Regions from separate parts of the Homo sapiens genome. Here regions 2, 3, 4 and 5 are each linked to region 1. The links are contacts of gene promoters, found by promoter capture Hi-C in blood cells and fetal thymus (Javierre and others, 2016). All regions are on one chromosome and are shown on one strand. The core of a region is centred on a gene start or on the middle of the fragment in contact, and the rest is flanking DNA. Distances in the headings are between cores, read along the strand shown.

Region 1 (2,812 bases), core at 166-2,665:
AGCCTACTTTGAGGGGAAAATAACCGAAAGAAATGTCAAACGAAGTACAAGAACAAGCAATGAGTTATATTTTATGAAAGTGTACAAGATTTAACAGACACATATCACACACTATGAAAAAAGTTATGTAAACACAGACGGGGTTTTAATGAAACAGCATTCAGAAATTAATCTAGAAGCTTTATTAACACAGCAAATCTGTCCTACCAACTTAATCTGGTCATTCCTTTGAATATAACAGTTATGAAACAAGCATATTCTTCAGCAGGCTTCTCATAAAAAATTCCAGAGATTTTAAAGGAAAGCCTAAGAACTAGACTTTTCTCGTTAAAATGTGAGTTAAATTTAAAGATGTCGTATGGAATGTAGCAGCAATCAATACTGGGAAGCAAAATGTATATAGAAAAAATAAAAAATATATACACAGATTTAACGCAGACACTATCTAAATATCAACGACAGGCTCAAAATACTTTATAAGGATTATGTGTCAACATAAGCCTTTAACATTCGCTCTCTTAAAGCCAAAATGTTTTAAGATTTAGAACCAGAGAACAGGCAGTCTGACGGTCAAAGAGGGGAAATCATTTTTTTCCAGCATCTTCTAATGAAGTCTGTCTCTCACAATTATAAAAACTTTTGCAGGCTGGTCTAAACCGTGAGCTGCCTGGAGAAAGCAGAAGGGAGGTATCCTGAATGAAAGCCAAACCATCTCCATAAATTAATGTCTTCCCTTGACTAGAAAGCATTTCAGGGTAAAAAGCATGTACGAATTCCTCCGTAATATGAAAAGGGGTTGGAGGGCAGGGAATGAAATAGAGAGCGAGGGCACTAAAACATGTTTAGTTAACAGCGCTCAGAAGTCTCCACACAACCCGTATTCCCCTCCATCTCAATCAGACCAGGCTATTCTCTCCTCCTCCGAAGGTTTAGGGGTCAGAAAGAGATGTGGGGTCAAAGTGGCTTCCCCGACAGGTCCCCTCCCTAAGTTTCCCCTCGGCTGAGCCCAGATCTCCGCTCTGAACCGACCTAAGAGCTGGTCTAGGGCTGGGAGCCCGGTTGATACCAGCAGCTGTCCATTCCGCACCGACGGTCGCGTGCCCGCAATGGACACCAGTCGAGGGCCGCTGTCGTTGGTCACGCTGGCTCTAGGACCCCTCCTCTGGAAACTGGTGACGTTGCTCTTGCTGGCTGTCGCCACTGCAGACCCAGTACTCGCGGCAACACTACCGCAGGTTGCCACTGCCGCCATCTTAGAGCCTCCAGTGTTAACCCAATAGGAACTCTGGGAACGCAAACACCCGTCCTATCAGAACCAGTGCCAAACTCCCGCCTCCTCGCCCCAACCGCGGCTCTCGTAACCAATAGGACTGAGACGTCAGTCCCGAGCCAACCAATCGGAAGGCGTATTGCTGAAAAGTGCGCCCTACGAAAGGACGGTCGACTTCGGCGGGGCCCAGGTGAGAAAGGCCCACCTGTGTCCTGGTTGAGGGTCTCCAGGGTTCTTTGGGGCCCGAGGTAGGTAATATCACGTAACGTTCTTCTCCTTTTGAGTGCCTTCATTCACATTGAGTTAAAGAAAAGGTTGGTGAAACAATAAACCCTTAGGGCTTATCAAGCAATTGCTAGCACCTTTCTCCGCTGTGTGTGAGGATAGACTTTTTTCCTGCTCATTTATCTTCTGATTTCTGATAGAAAATTCACTCCGCCTTCCCCACGATGTCTTTTTCTTAATTTTGTGTTATATGGAAAGGATGGGATCTCTTACCTTAATGAGTTGGTTGCTGAGCGTCTGGGCTTAGTTCGTTAGTGCCTAGTGGTAGGTGGTTTGGAATTAAACCTTAGAGCGAAAACTCTTGAACTTTGAGGCTATCTGGTTTTCCTGTGTCTGACAAACTATAGCTCTCTGACAAGTTCCGATAAGAAGCTTTTGTTAATTTTAATTAGTGTTTCTGGAAGTCTTGGATGTCTTTCCTAAGCGGTGTAAATGACAAGTGTTACTCTGACAACCTTGTTCACACATTTAATTGTCGTTTGCTGTTAAAGCAGCTGCAAATAACAGAAAATACTTAGGGTTTCTTTCCCCCAAAAAACTGCTAGGAAGAATTAGAAGTATACCTACTTTATTTTATGAACCCTGAATCGAGAGTTTATTACTAAAATACCAATTTTATGTGTGGAAAAAACATGTATTTTGAGTTGTATTTTTGTATTTAATTTTTTTTTCAAAACTGAGCAGGGACAGTGGGTAACTGATGTTTAAAGGCAATCATGATTGACAAATGTCTAAATTGAAAAGGACTCCCAAATCATTACCGCACTACTGAGTTATTGACTTTGACAGTGATCTGTGATACCTTTTAATTAGAGCCAAACCTCATTGAAATTCTTGCCATCGAATTGTTTTAAATCTCACTGACCTGTTGAAATTTTTGGGCTGATTCTGTTTGATAAATTGAAATTAGTATTGCTAAATAGTGACTGGAGTTTTTCATTTGGGGAGGATTTTTGTTTGTTTGCTTGTTTTTTAGAATCATGTTTAGGAAAAAACCCTGTTTCACAATATATCAACTGGAAAGCTTTGATCAAGGTTGCTTTCATATTGAATCTTTAAGTTACTCAATAAATAGCTGTTGAGTGATTACTGTCTGTTTGGACTTAATCTTGTCATTTTAGACCTATGGTAATAAAAATGGTCTCACCTGGAGGAGATAAAATTAACACATAGAAAACAACATAGTACTTAAAATGAACACATTAAATAGCATGTGCTAATTTTATCCTGTAGTAAATAAGCACTAGGAAGACCAAA
Region 2 (2,812 bases), core at 131-2,630, 490 kb before region 1:
AAAAATCACCCACCACCATCTCACGCAGAAATAACATTTTTTGCCACGTCTTTTAATGTGCCCACATAAATCTACATATAAATGTATGGGCAAAATCGGATCACGCTGGATAGATGATTTTCTGCATTGCTTTTTTTACCTAATATTGTGATGTGAGCATTTTTCTCCCTGTATTGTTGAATAGCTTTTAAAATCATGATTCTTAGTGGTTATGTAATTTCATGAGATGGTTGGAAGATGACTTATTTAAATACTTCCTGGTTGTTGGAAATTTAGATTGAGTTAGAATAACTTTTCAATGAAAGAGGAAAAAAATGCTAGCTATTCATGAGGCAACAATGATTTCTCACCCTATATGAGCAACCAGTAATAAACGTCAGCAACACCATCTAGCATGTGATGAAAGTTCCAGAAATGGCAGGAAATGGATGGGGAACTCGTAAAGGATGAAGTGAGTTATTAGTGTTTATTATTTATATGGTACAGTAAATATATACAGCACAGGACTAAGCATTTGCTTGTCAGTGACATACAACCAGTCCATGGTGCCACAGAGCTTGGACAATGCTGAAATCCACGAATCAAGGCAGCATCTTTAGAGGACATGGCGAGTCAGCCATTCCCGTTGGAAGGGGCCCTACCGAACCTTCTCAACACCAGTACATTTCCTTTGCCTTGGAATGACTTTCACTTTCAAGGACAACACCTCTAGTCCCCTGACAACCTCAGGGTGTGTGCATGCGTGTGTGTGTGCACGCAGGCACGGAAAGGAGGAGGGAGCAGAGTGAGGTAAGTACGGATTTCCTTCCTATCTTCCATAGTTTTGCCTCTTGGGATGGCAGCTTTCAATGGCCACGTCCTGATCCTTGTGAATCTGAGAATCCCAACAGACCAGAAAGCCTCTCCTGCTCGTGCACGTGAGACAGGGATTCTTACCTCTAATTTACAGTTAAGGAAATAGAGTCAAAGAGCAGTACAACAACTTGATCAGGATTTCTCTTTTCAAATGACAAACCAGGACTCCAGCTCAACACCCTAAGTCCCACGTCAGTGATGACACCCCAGCTGACTCCCTAGGACAGCATTTTTGAGTGTCTGTTTTGAGTGTCTTTCAGGCTCTGTTCCCTTTTCCCGTTTACACTTATTTGGAAGTAAAATCTCTTTGATAAAGTAGGGAGAGGGAATTTAAGAAAGAAACTCTCTCTCATTCTTAGACCTATAAATGGGGCTTTCCTCAGGCTCCCCAGCCATCTCAGTCTCCCATCCCTGCTTTATTTTTTCTCTAAAGCACACCTCCCATCTAACACGGTATAGATTTTACTTCAAAACCAAAATATCTCCCCATTAGAAATAAGCTCCCCTAGAAGCAAGTCCTTTCAAAGTAGCGCAGAGACTGTAGAATGTAGTAGTAATAGCCACCATTTTTTGAGTACCTGCTAGGTGTCAACAACTTTCCAAACATTAATTCTAATTCTTGGAATATTCTGGTGACAGGTAAGTATTCTTCCTGCACTTTTACAGGTGAAGAAAACAAAAGCTCAGAAGGGTGGTAGGAGCACTTCACGGTCACAGAGCTCAGATGGCGGCAGAGATGGGATGTGGTCCAAGTCAGCCCGAGTCCAAAGCCGTTCCCCTCATCTTGCTTGGCTTTTAGAGAGACAATTGAGGAGGGACAATTGGGTCACTTTGGCATCCAACTGGATATTTCCTGCCTAGTGTCTAAGTGATGGGGTGGGGATGAGGAGTAAGTCCGGGGTTCCAGGACTTCTAGGAAGTGCTTCTAATCCCGACAGGCTGCTCAGACATCATTTTGTCCCAACTGGCAAATCCTTTAGTTTCCTTTTTTTTTTTGAAATGCCTTGGCTCACTGAAACCTCCGCCTCCCGGGTTCAACCAGTTCCCCTGCCTCAGCCTCCCAAGTAGCTGGGATTACAGGTGCCTGCCACCACACCCGGCTAATTTTTTGTATTTTTAGTAGAGACAGAGTTTCATCATGTTGGCCAAGCTGGTCTTGAACTCCTGACGTCTTGATCAGCCCGCTTTGGCCTCCCAAAGCACTGGGATTACAGGCGTGAGCCACTGTGCCTGGCCTAGGTTCCTTCTTTCCCTGAAACAGCTCCTTACCCTTTGAAGGCATAGACTTGGACTCTCTCAAAGTTGCTTATGAGTGGGCTTATCTGATTCTGTTCTGGGGGCCAAGAGCCAAAGATCCCTTGGAACATTGGGCAACATCTAAGTCAAATTCACCCGCTTCTACACAGCCTCTCGGCTAGAACCAAGCCTGTGATACAAACATATTCCAAAACAGAGACATGGAGAGTCTTTGCAAAACAGCCTAGAGAATCTCAGCTTGCATCGTTTCTAGCAGAGGCACTGTGTGTGCCCCGCATGCATTAACCCAGAGACAGGCAGTTAAGTGCCCCTTGGGGAACCGGATCCAGAACCATAGCTTTATTCTTTGCCAGCTCCTTTAGCTGTGTAGATAAATGTTTTCAATCCTCCCCCAAACCACCACCATCTTTTAAAATAGCACTTGAGGCTTGGCGCAGTGGTTCACGCCTGTAATCCCAGCACTTCGGGAGGCCGAGGCAGGCAGATCACAAGGTCAGGAGATCAAGACCAGCCTGGCCAACATGAAGAAATGCTGTCTCTACCAAAAACACAAAAATTAGTGCACGCCTGTAGTCCCAGCTACTCAGGAGGCTGAGGCAGGAGAATCGTTTGAACTTGGGAGGCGGAGGTTGCAGTGAGCCGAGATTGCATCACTGCACTCCAGTCTGGTCAACAGAGTGAAACTCCGTCTCAAAAAATA
Region 3 (2,812 bases), core at 87-2,586, 350 kb before region 1:
CTTTCCTATGGAGATCTCTGGGCATCAGCCACTCACGTTAAATTCCCACGTGAGCTCCTTCCCCAAACAACAAGAGGGCACTGCCCATCTTCGCCTGTTGCCTTCTCTTCTCGCCCCCTGCCACCCCTATCTGACTGGTGGCCTCAGTTTCCCCACACACCCTGCTGGCTCCTGTCCTCAATGCTCATGCTCTGGGTCCCCACCCTGTGGCGTGCTCCCCTTAGCCTCACCTAGTTACATCCACCTAGTTACATCCTTCCAGGCCCACCCTGAGCCACCAAAACAGCCCCTTGCTGATCTTCCAGCTCCATGCCTGAGCCCCAGGGCTTACTGCCTCACAGCTGCCAGAATGGTTTCTTTTTAAACACACAAATTATATCATGTCACTCCTGCCCCAAGACCCTCCACAATAGCCTGCATCCTTAGAATAAACCCTGAAATTCCTTCCCCAGCCTCCAGGCCCTAGCTATTCTCCAGTCCCTTCTCCACCACTGTCCCCTCCCTCACCACTCTGCAGCCATGCTGGCCTCCTCACTATCTAGAGGGCACACTGAGCCTGCAAATGCTTTCCCTAGCTACCCAACACCTGCCATTTTCTCCTGGTTAGGGTCAAGCCTCAGACTCCCTCATCTCTTCAGAGAGGCCTTTTGGGACCACCATCTGACCCCACTCAGCTCCACTCACTTCCACCATTTTATCTTATCAAAGCTTTTTTGTAGCTCTTATCCATATCAGAAAATATCTGATATATGGATTGATTATCTGTGATTAACTATACACACACGCACACATATGCATGAGACAGGGTCTCCCTCTGTTGCCCAGGCTAGAGTTTAGTGGCACCATCACAGCTCACTGCAGCCTGGAACTCCTATCCTGAGCTCAAGTGATCCTCCCTCTTCAGCTTCCCAAGTAGTAGGACTACAGACACACACCACCATGCCCAGCTAATTTTTAAATTTTTTGTAGGGACAGGGTCTTGCTATGGTGCCCAGGCTGGTCTCCAACTCTTGGCCTCAAGCAATCCTCCCACCTCCCAAAAGTGCTGGGATTACAGATGTGAGCCACCCCAACTGGCCAACAATATACAATAACAGCAATCAATTATTACTATTATTGATTAACAAATTCAATATTTCTATCCAGTAATAGTATTCTGAGATCGGTCTCCCTCCACCAGAATGGAAGCCCCTTGAGGAGAGGGACTCCTTCCTGGCCATCTTTGCATCCCCAACACCAACAACGGCTCATAAGTGTTGATTGACTTCCTACTTGAAGAAGCTCCTCCTGACTGTCTGCACCCTCTCCAGCGTCTCCATCTTTGGAGTCCCTGAAGTGCTGATTTGGCACTACTCCCACATCGCTTACAGTGGAACTTTGCGTTCAGATGCGTCCTGGCTCCCAGGTACATTTTAAGTTTCTCCATCTTCAGTGTCTCTCTGACCCTGCCCCACCCCCACATAGTTCCTAGCACAGGGCCCTTGCACAATGTAGATACTCAAAAAAAATGTTATTATTTATCTGGTTGGCTGGTTGGCACTTTTATCCTCTCTTCAGTCCCCATCTCACTCCTTTGGGCTGAAAGTTTATCCCTGATTGTTTTCCTCCTGTGGTTAGTGTCACAATTACTCCCTCTTATTGCTTTGATTGTGATATGAACTTCACTCTCTGTGAAAGGATGCTCACAAGGGTTCACTTAGGAAGTGAGTTTCCTAATTTCATGTCCAATGTAAACAGAGGCAAATATGTAATTATCAAGCATTATTACCACTTGTAATTACCCCGACTTCTCAGTCAACATTGTGAACTAAAGAAATGAGCGTGAAGAATGGAGTGTTTAAAATTTGCCCTCTTGTCCCTTAAAATATTTACTTTTCAATCATGTCTCCAAATAGTTTAATTATGTCTGGTTATCTAATTAGTGCATGTGTGTGGTATTTACAGGCCATCCAGAGTAAAGCTTTGTAACTTTCCAAATGTCTGCATTTCACTGAGTGTCCCATCAAATATTTCCAAGTATTCATTTCCAAGGCGCTGTTCCTAGACTGCTAAACACCACCATCAACAGCATCTCTGTAGCAGTTAAGAATCTTCCTGAGTTAATTCACTGAAGTATTTCCCAGGAGTCCCGCATATTGAAGGGCTCCACTTATAGACCAGAGTTTTTTTTTCAGTGTGGCCCAAGGGCTGCCATCAGAATGACGTGGAATACTTTTCAAATGCTGATTCTCTGGGTCAGGCCAGAATTGTCAAATTCACATCCCAAAGGAGAGAGCTAAGTAATCTGCATTTTAACAAACTCCCTGGGTCAGTCTCATTCACACTGAAATGTCACTGAGAAAGCCACTTTCCCGCCCTATCCTGGACCTGTGTCTTGCTTCCATGTCTGCTGTGGAATAAGCAAAAGGAATGTCAATGCAAACAAAAGCACAGCTTCCTGTAGAACACTACAAATCTGGTCTCTTGGAATTCTGAAATATGTCTGCCAGAGAATCAACAATGATACCTGTGCTAGTTAGAATACCAGTTAGTTGGCTCCTACAAAAGCCAAAGTAACAGTGGCAGGCTGGGCTCAGTGACTCACACCATTAATCCCAGCACTTTGGGAGGCTGAGGCGGGTGGATCGCTTGAGTCCAGGAGTTTGAGACCAGCCTGGGAAACATGCCGAAACTTCATCTCTACAAAAAAATACAAAAATTAGCCGGGCTTGGTGGTGCACACCTGTAGTCCAGCTACTCATGAGGCTGAGGTGGTAGGATTGCTTGATCCTGGGAGATTGAGGCTGTAGTGAGCCATGATTGCACCACTGCA
Region 4 (2,812 bases), core at 146-2,645, 330 kb before region 1:
GACAAGGACCTAAGGAAGGAGGAATCAGAAAGAAAGCCAAGAACTGGGGTTAGAGGGTATTAAACAGGATCTGGATAGAAAGGCCAGGGCTAGAACATGTAGGGTCTGATAGGTCAGGAAGAACGATATGGGATTTTGTTCTAAACTAACGAGAAGCCACTGAGAGAGTTTTAAGTAAATTATGTAACTGTGTTGCAGTCTATTCCTCTTAATTTGTATATTTGCTAGAGCTCTGAGTCAGTACAGTACTGTTCAAGTTCGGGAGTGGGTCAAATTTCCTAATTGTTGGCTGGGCGTGGTGGCTCATGCCTGTAATCCCAGCACTTTGGGAGGCCGAGGCAGGCGGATCACAAGGTCAGGAGTTCGAGACCAGCATAGCTCATATGGTGAAACGCCTTCTCTACTAAAAATACAAAATTAGCTGGGTGTGGTGGTGTATGCCTGTAGTCCCAGCTGCTCGGGAGGCTGAGGCAGGAGAATCGCTTGAACCTGGGAGGCGGAGGTTGAAGTGAGCCGAGATGGTGCCACTGCACTCCAGCTTGGGTGACAGCGAGACTCCGTCTCAAAAAAAAGAAAAAAATTTTTTCCTAATTGTTAGTAAGCTTTCATAAGAAACATGTCATTTATTTTCTACTCTGACTTCGTCTCTGCTTTCAGTTCTTATTTTAGAGGTGGGGAGGGGAGGAGACATTTAACTAATTGTACCGGGATCTAATACCCCAGGAAACAAAGTAACCCCATCATTGATATAAGTCATAGTTCAAGTTGAACCTTTGTTATCCAAGGACTCTTTTTGAAGGGGAAAAATGGCAACAGAAGGCTTCTCATGGGCATTTTTGCTGGTGCAGGGAACCTCCCTTCTGTTGCCATTTTTCCCCCTCAAAAAGAGCCCTTCGATAACAAAGATTCAACCTGCTGCTTATCCCAAAAGCTCTTTTACCTTCAGGCAATCAGTAGAGTAGAAATCTCCTTTATTGACTGAGCTATATTGTAGGTGAGAGGCAGTCTGAGCAAGTGAAGATATTTACCACTTGACCCCCCGGAACTTGAACAACCTTCCCCTTTGAGGGTGTTCTCCCCACTGTCAGAGTCCTGGTGGGACGCAGAGCCCTATCTCCCACTATAGATGCATAAGAATTAGGAACATAACTTAGATTCAGCTATCTTGAATCTTAAGTAGATAATGAAAAAACACAAGGGGTAGAATTCTTCCTGGTGGGGATGGAGTACTGTCAATCCAGTCCAGGGACATTGGTGGTAGCAGTTTCAGCAGAGGTGTCCAGAAACCAGACAAGTCCTATGGCACGATTTAGGCTACAGTTCTGCTGCCAGCCCCGCTTGGCTGCTCCATATTCGTTGATACTAATTCTCTGTGGGTGATCCAGTATCTTCTCAATAGGTTCTTTATCTACAGGTCTTTTTCTGGTATTGGTGACCAGGAATCCTAGTTATAATAATAACTTACATTGACATAGCCCTCATTATTTGTCACACACTATCCCACACACTTTGCAATAAATACTATTGCCTTTAGTGCTAGTAAAATAGAGAAATAGGTTTCTCTGCTGACAGAGGGAAGCCATGTGACAGAGTAATTTACTTTAATAAGAAAAAACTAGGCTGAGTGCAGTGGCTCACACCTGTAATCCCAGCACTTTGGAAGGCTGAGGCAGAAGGATTGCTTGAGCTCATGAGTTCGAGACCAGCCTGGGCAACATGATGAAACCTCATCTTCACAAAAAATACAGAAAATTAGCCAGGCATGGTGGTGCACACCTGTAGTCCCAGCTACTTGGGAGGTTGAGGTGGCAGGAAGGCTTGAGCCGGGGACGCAGAGGTTGCAATGAGCTGAGATCACACCACTGCAGTCAAGCCTAAGCAATAGAGGCAGACCTTGTCAAAGAAAGAAAGAAAGGAAAGAAAGAAAGAAAGAAAGAAAGAAAGAAAGAAAGAAAGAAAGAAAGGAAAGAAAGAAGAAAGAAAAAACTAAAGTGTGGACTGAAGCCTTTTATCAGCCTAGAGATTAAAAATACTTTTTTCTCTAATAGTAAGAAATTGGAAGTAACCTGAAATGTCTGAGAATGGGAAAATAAGTGGGCAAATTATAATGCCACCACTCAAGGGACTAATATGCAGCCATTTAAAATAATAATTAGCAAAACTGAAATGTAAAATAAGAAAAGCTTGTAGTTACAGTGGAGTAAAAATATGAAAGCAAATTGCCAAGAAGTCGAAGGATTACATAAACATTCAGGGCTGTTTTGTTAGGGTGGTGATTATAGGTGAAGATACCCCTCTATTTCTAAACTCCCTCCAATGTTGTTATATTGTATTTCTAATTTTAAAAGGAAACACACTTTCCCTCACTCTATATTTATCCCAGTGCTCCAGGATGACTCTTCTCCAAGTGTGGGAAAATCCCTATAATCATCCCCTTAGCAACCATTTAAGACAATGAACTTCAGGGCCACTTCTAAGTCTATACGAACAGGGTGGATTTTGACCCCAATATTCAACTGAAGTTTTCAGTACCAAAACCCCGGATATACCAAAATTTCAATGCCCATCACCTTCTGTTCTGAGGTTAAAACCCTAATCCAGATGTACATATTTGGGAATGTGAACCACCACTTCTCTGACCCAATTATTTTTGATGAACTACAGTTTTCTGCTTCACACAAGGAGCTGGGAGATCCACTTCAGTTCATGAAAAGTTGTAGAAACAGAACATCACTCCTTTGATTCACACTTTTACCTTCCATGCAGGCTCATTCCCAGAGGTCTTCTATACTCACAACTTGCAATGTTCTTG
Region 5 (2,812 bases), core at 1-2,500, 270 kb before region 1:
ATTTCAGGAGCCTACCTATTTGCTTGTGGACTGGCTCAGCATTTCTTGGCCTCTGCTTTTCTAGGCAATGAATGTGGTGAGCCAGTTGGCCGAAAGCCCTTCAGAGAAAAAGTAGCTAAATGTGACATGTGACATGCTTGGAAATCTTTCAGGTTGAATGGCTTTGAAGTAAAGTCAAATATCATTCGTGTGAGACTTCTGAGCATAAAAATTTAGGGGTAATATGATTAACTGCTTTTAACCAAATGCTACATTGTAAAGCTAGTTGTATATTCATGCCCTTTGAAAATGCCCAAGGATGGCTCTTGGAAATATGTGAATCTATGTGTGATTTTGCCTGCTTTTGTTGATTATTACTTGAATGAGCTTACTATGCAATCTAAATTCTCAAGCAGTGGGTTTTGTTTTCTTTCTTTCTGAGCCTCCCCCTGTGCGCCATGTCAGTGCGATGTGAAACAGCGAGGAAGAACGAGAGATCAGGTTCCAGGCATGCCAGGTGTGTCAGGGATTTTTCCTTTGAGGCTTCCAAAGCATTTACACACTTGACATGTAAATGTTCAGATGCTGCTGTATCCCAGATCTGTCTTCTGAAAAAAAATGCTGCAAGATACTCTGCATAGCATGGTGACCTCCTTTAGACTTAAAACTACAGGGCTGTAGGGTATATAAACTTTTAGACATTGAGGTTTCACTGAGTAATGGTTTAAAGAAAAATCAGACCACAAAAAAATCATATTATTCTCAACCTTGAAAACCAAATCAAGGTATTCATATTTCTCATTTTATACCTGGGGTTCTGAAGCAAGGGCCAAAACCAAAACCATATCTTACTTCTTGAGCTGAAATTTTTCCACTTGATTTTCTTTTCTCAGATTCTGGGAGGAAGAGACTGTGTGATGCAGGAGATGGATAGCTGGCTGGCTGGCTGGCTGCCTACTTTTTCCATTAATGCCTTGTCTAAAACAATGATTTCTGTGTAGGCAAACGGATCTGGGAAAGGTGTGACAACTTCCACGGTTCCTGCACAGGCCAGGGTGATTTGCTGTAATCCCACTGGATCAACGCTGCAAGGAGGGAAACAGTGAGGCTAGCAAAACACTCTGGCAGATTATGGAGACTCCTGCCAAAAGGCACCCTTAGGCCCATGGGAAGCCCAGGGTCATAATAAGGCAGCAGCAGCAGAAGTGATTTGCTCTGAGGCTCCAAGAGGTACCGAGGAGAGCTGGACTTTGAGATTCTTTCCCCTCTACTTGCCTCTCCGTCTCTTTGTTGGGCTTAGCCACTGTCTATATTTTGTTCCTTCTGAGTCAGCAGCTAAATTGATCCTATAGACACATAAGATTGGAATTCCTGGCTCAACAGTTCCCTTCCTAATTCCGTTTCTCCCAGCCTGCCAGGCCTGTGCTCAGTGCTCACAGTTCCCAGACAGAAGGGGCAAGATAATGAATCTCGATTACACCTGGATTTGAGACAAATTGCAGGTAAATACTCATTAAAATAAGTTTAATCAGTTTATATTTTTCACATTTTGCCAAGACCAAACCATCAGGCACTGTTTGTTTTCTGAAAACAACTGATGTAGTATACTTTGACCCTTAGCAGATGACTAAAGATTTATTTTAAACCTTTTAAAAATTTCTGACATTTCCTGAAAAGTCACAATTTGTATTGCTCAGGATCACAGAAATAAGCATTAACATTTCAGAATACTCCTAATAGATTTTTTCATTTTTCTTTAAAACATTGCCAATTTAAATGAAAACTTGCCAGGCACGGGGTAGCTCACACCTGTAATCCCCACACTCTGGGAGGCCGAAGTGGGAGCCTGGGAGTTCAAGACCAGCCTGGACAATAAAATACAGTGAGACCTCATCTCTACAAAAAAACCTTTAAAACTTTAGTAACTGTCTCAAAAAACAAACAAACAAAAACAAAAAACAACAACTTATAAATACCTTAGAACACACAGGTTCTACATTGGTCCCTTAACAGAGGTGGCCAGGACTTGTGGGCACTGGACACAGAGGCAGAGAGTGACAGTTTGATACCTGCCTCTGTCATTCACTCTCCACGTAACCTCAGAAAAGTCAATTCAGCTGGTTAAGCCTCAGTGTCCTCATCTATCATGGGGGAATGATTCTTCCCTCATAAGACTCTCGTCAGAATAAAATGAGATGTGTAAGTGTTTTGTGAACTATCAAGTTCTACACTAATTTATTTATCTCTTCTTGCTTCAAAAATGGATCTGAGGTGGTTCATAAAAGTACATATGGTATAACAAGACAAAAACAAGTGAGTTTATTAGGTCAAGGAAATCAATCTACAAATATAACGAACAAATATAAACAATAGCAACAGCACATCAGACTTAGCCACCAGGTCTCAGTCTGCCTGGAATCTGAGTATTTAGTATAATTACTCTCTACTGCGGCTCCTTACAGACATATAAAGCAAAGTGCAACTGCAGTCCCTGCTTCTGAGGTTTTAAAAGTCTAAATACTTTCCCTCATACTGAGTAAGGTAGGAGTGAAAGTGGGGTATGTAAGATGCCTGGCTTCTGGGCCAGTGTATACATGCATGGCTGTATTAAGGAGGCAATTTAGGGTGCATTTTATTTTTAAAACCTGTATTTTGCACATGTCTTCACTGCTGGCAAAATAACTAATAAAGGAAATGTCAGAAGATGAAGCTTTCCCACTCGAGTTTTAAAAGCATATCCCCCCTTTATATAATGGGGAGGAAACAAACGCTCAAAAGGCACGCCATCCTATTCCACTGCAGGTTTTCAGCTCTGATGCACTCACTGCAGGAT

Evidence for each region. The method cuts DNA at HindIII sites, captures the fragments that hold promoters and counts their contacts. A CHiCAGO score of 5 or more calls a contact.
Region 2: a contact is called between a fragment that was not itself captured here and the fragment with the promoter of IMMP1L in region 1, in 2 of 17 cell types (total CD4 T cells and total CD8 T cells). The highest score is 5.6, in total CD4 T cells.
Region 3: a fragment that was not itself captured here is called in contact with the fragment with the promoter of IMMP1L in region 1 in 1 of 17 cell types (endothelial precursors); the score reaches 5.9 in endothelial precursors.
Region 4: a contact is called between a fragment that was not itself captured here and the fragment with the promoter of IMMP1L in region 1, in 1 of 17 cell types (endothelial precursors). The highest score is 5.2, in endothelial precursors.
Region 5: a contact is called between a fragment that was not itself captured here and the fragment with the promoter of IMMP1L in region 1, in 1 of 17 cell types (endothelial precursors). The highest score is 5.1, in endothelial precursors.

Annotation. Positions count from the first base shown.
Region 1 is chr11:31,508,225-31,511,036 of GRCh38, reverse strand. It overlaps IMMP1L (inner mitochondrial membrane peptidase subunit 1), which reads left to right and starts at 1,415. Exons shown (of 6, transcript NM_001304274.2): 1 at 1,415-1,518. It overlaps ELP4 (elongator acetyltransferase complex subunit 4), which reads right to left and starts at 1,270. Exons shown (of 10, transcript NM_019040.5): 1 at 1,030-1,270. The coding sequence starts at 1,252. RefSeq lists enhancers at 966-1,255, 388-1,277. The HindIII fragment of the contact is 1,748 bases long and covers 182-1,929 here.
Region 2 is chr11:32,000,041-32,002,852 of GRCh38, reverse strand. It overlaps LOC124902657 (a long non-coding RNA gene), which reads right to left. Exons shown (of 2, transcript XR_007062644.1): 2 at 448-1,647. Among named protein-coding and RNA genes, the nearest start is that of LINC03031, 40 kb to the left of the region's middle. The HindIII fragment of the contact is 6,759 bases long and covers 1-2,812 here.
Region 3 is chr11:31,863,125-31,865,936 of GRCh38, reverse strand. All of the region lies in intron 1 of PAX6-AS1 (PAX6 antisense RNA 1), which reads right to left. Among named protein-coding and RNA genes, the nearest start is that of PAUPAR, 38 kb to the right of the region's middle. The HindIII fragment of the contact is 1,252 bases long and covers 711-1,962 here.
Region 4 is chr11:31,840,135-31,842,946 of GRCh38, reverse strand. All of the region lies in intron 1 of PAX6-AS1 (PAX6 antisense RNA 1), which reads right to left. Among named protein-coding and RNA genes, the nearest start is that of PAUPAR, 15 kb to the right of the region's middle. The HindIII fragment of the contact is 1,581 bases long and covers 605-2,185 here.
Region 5 is chr11:31,777,965-31,780,776 of GRCh38, reverse strand. All of the region lies in intron 9 of ELP4 (elongator acetyltransferase complex subunit 4), which reads right to left. Among named protein-coding and RNA genes, the nearest start is that of ELP4-AS1, 11 kb to the right of the region's middle. RefSeq lists an enhancer at 339-1,538. The HindIII fragment of the contact is 2,883 bases long and covers 1-2,691 here.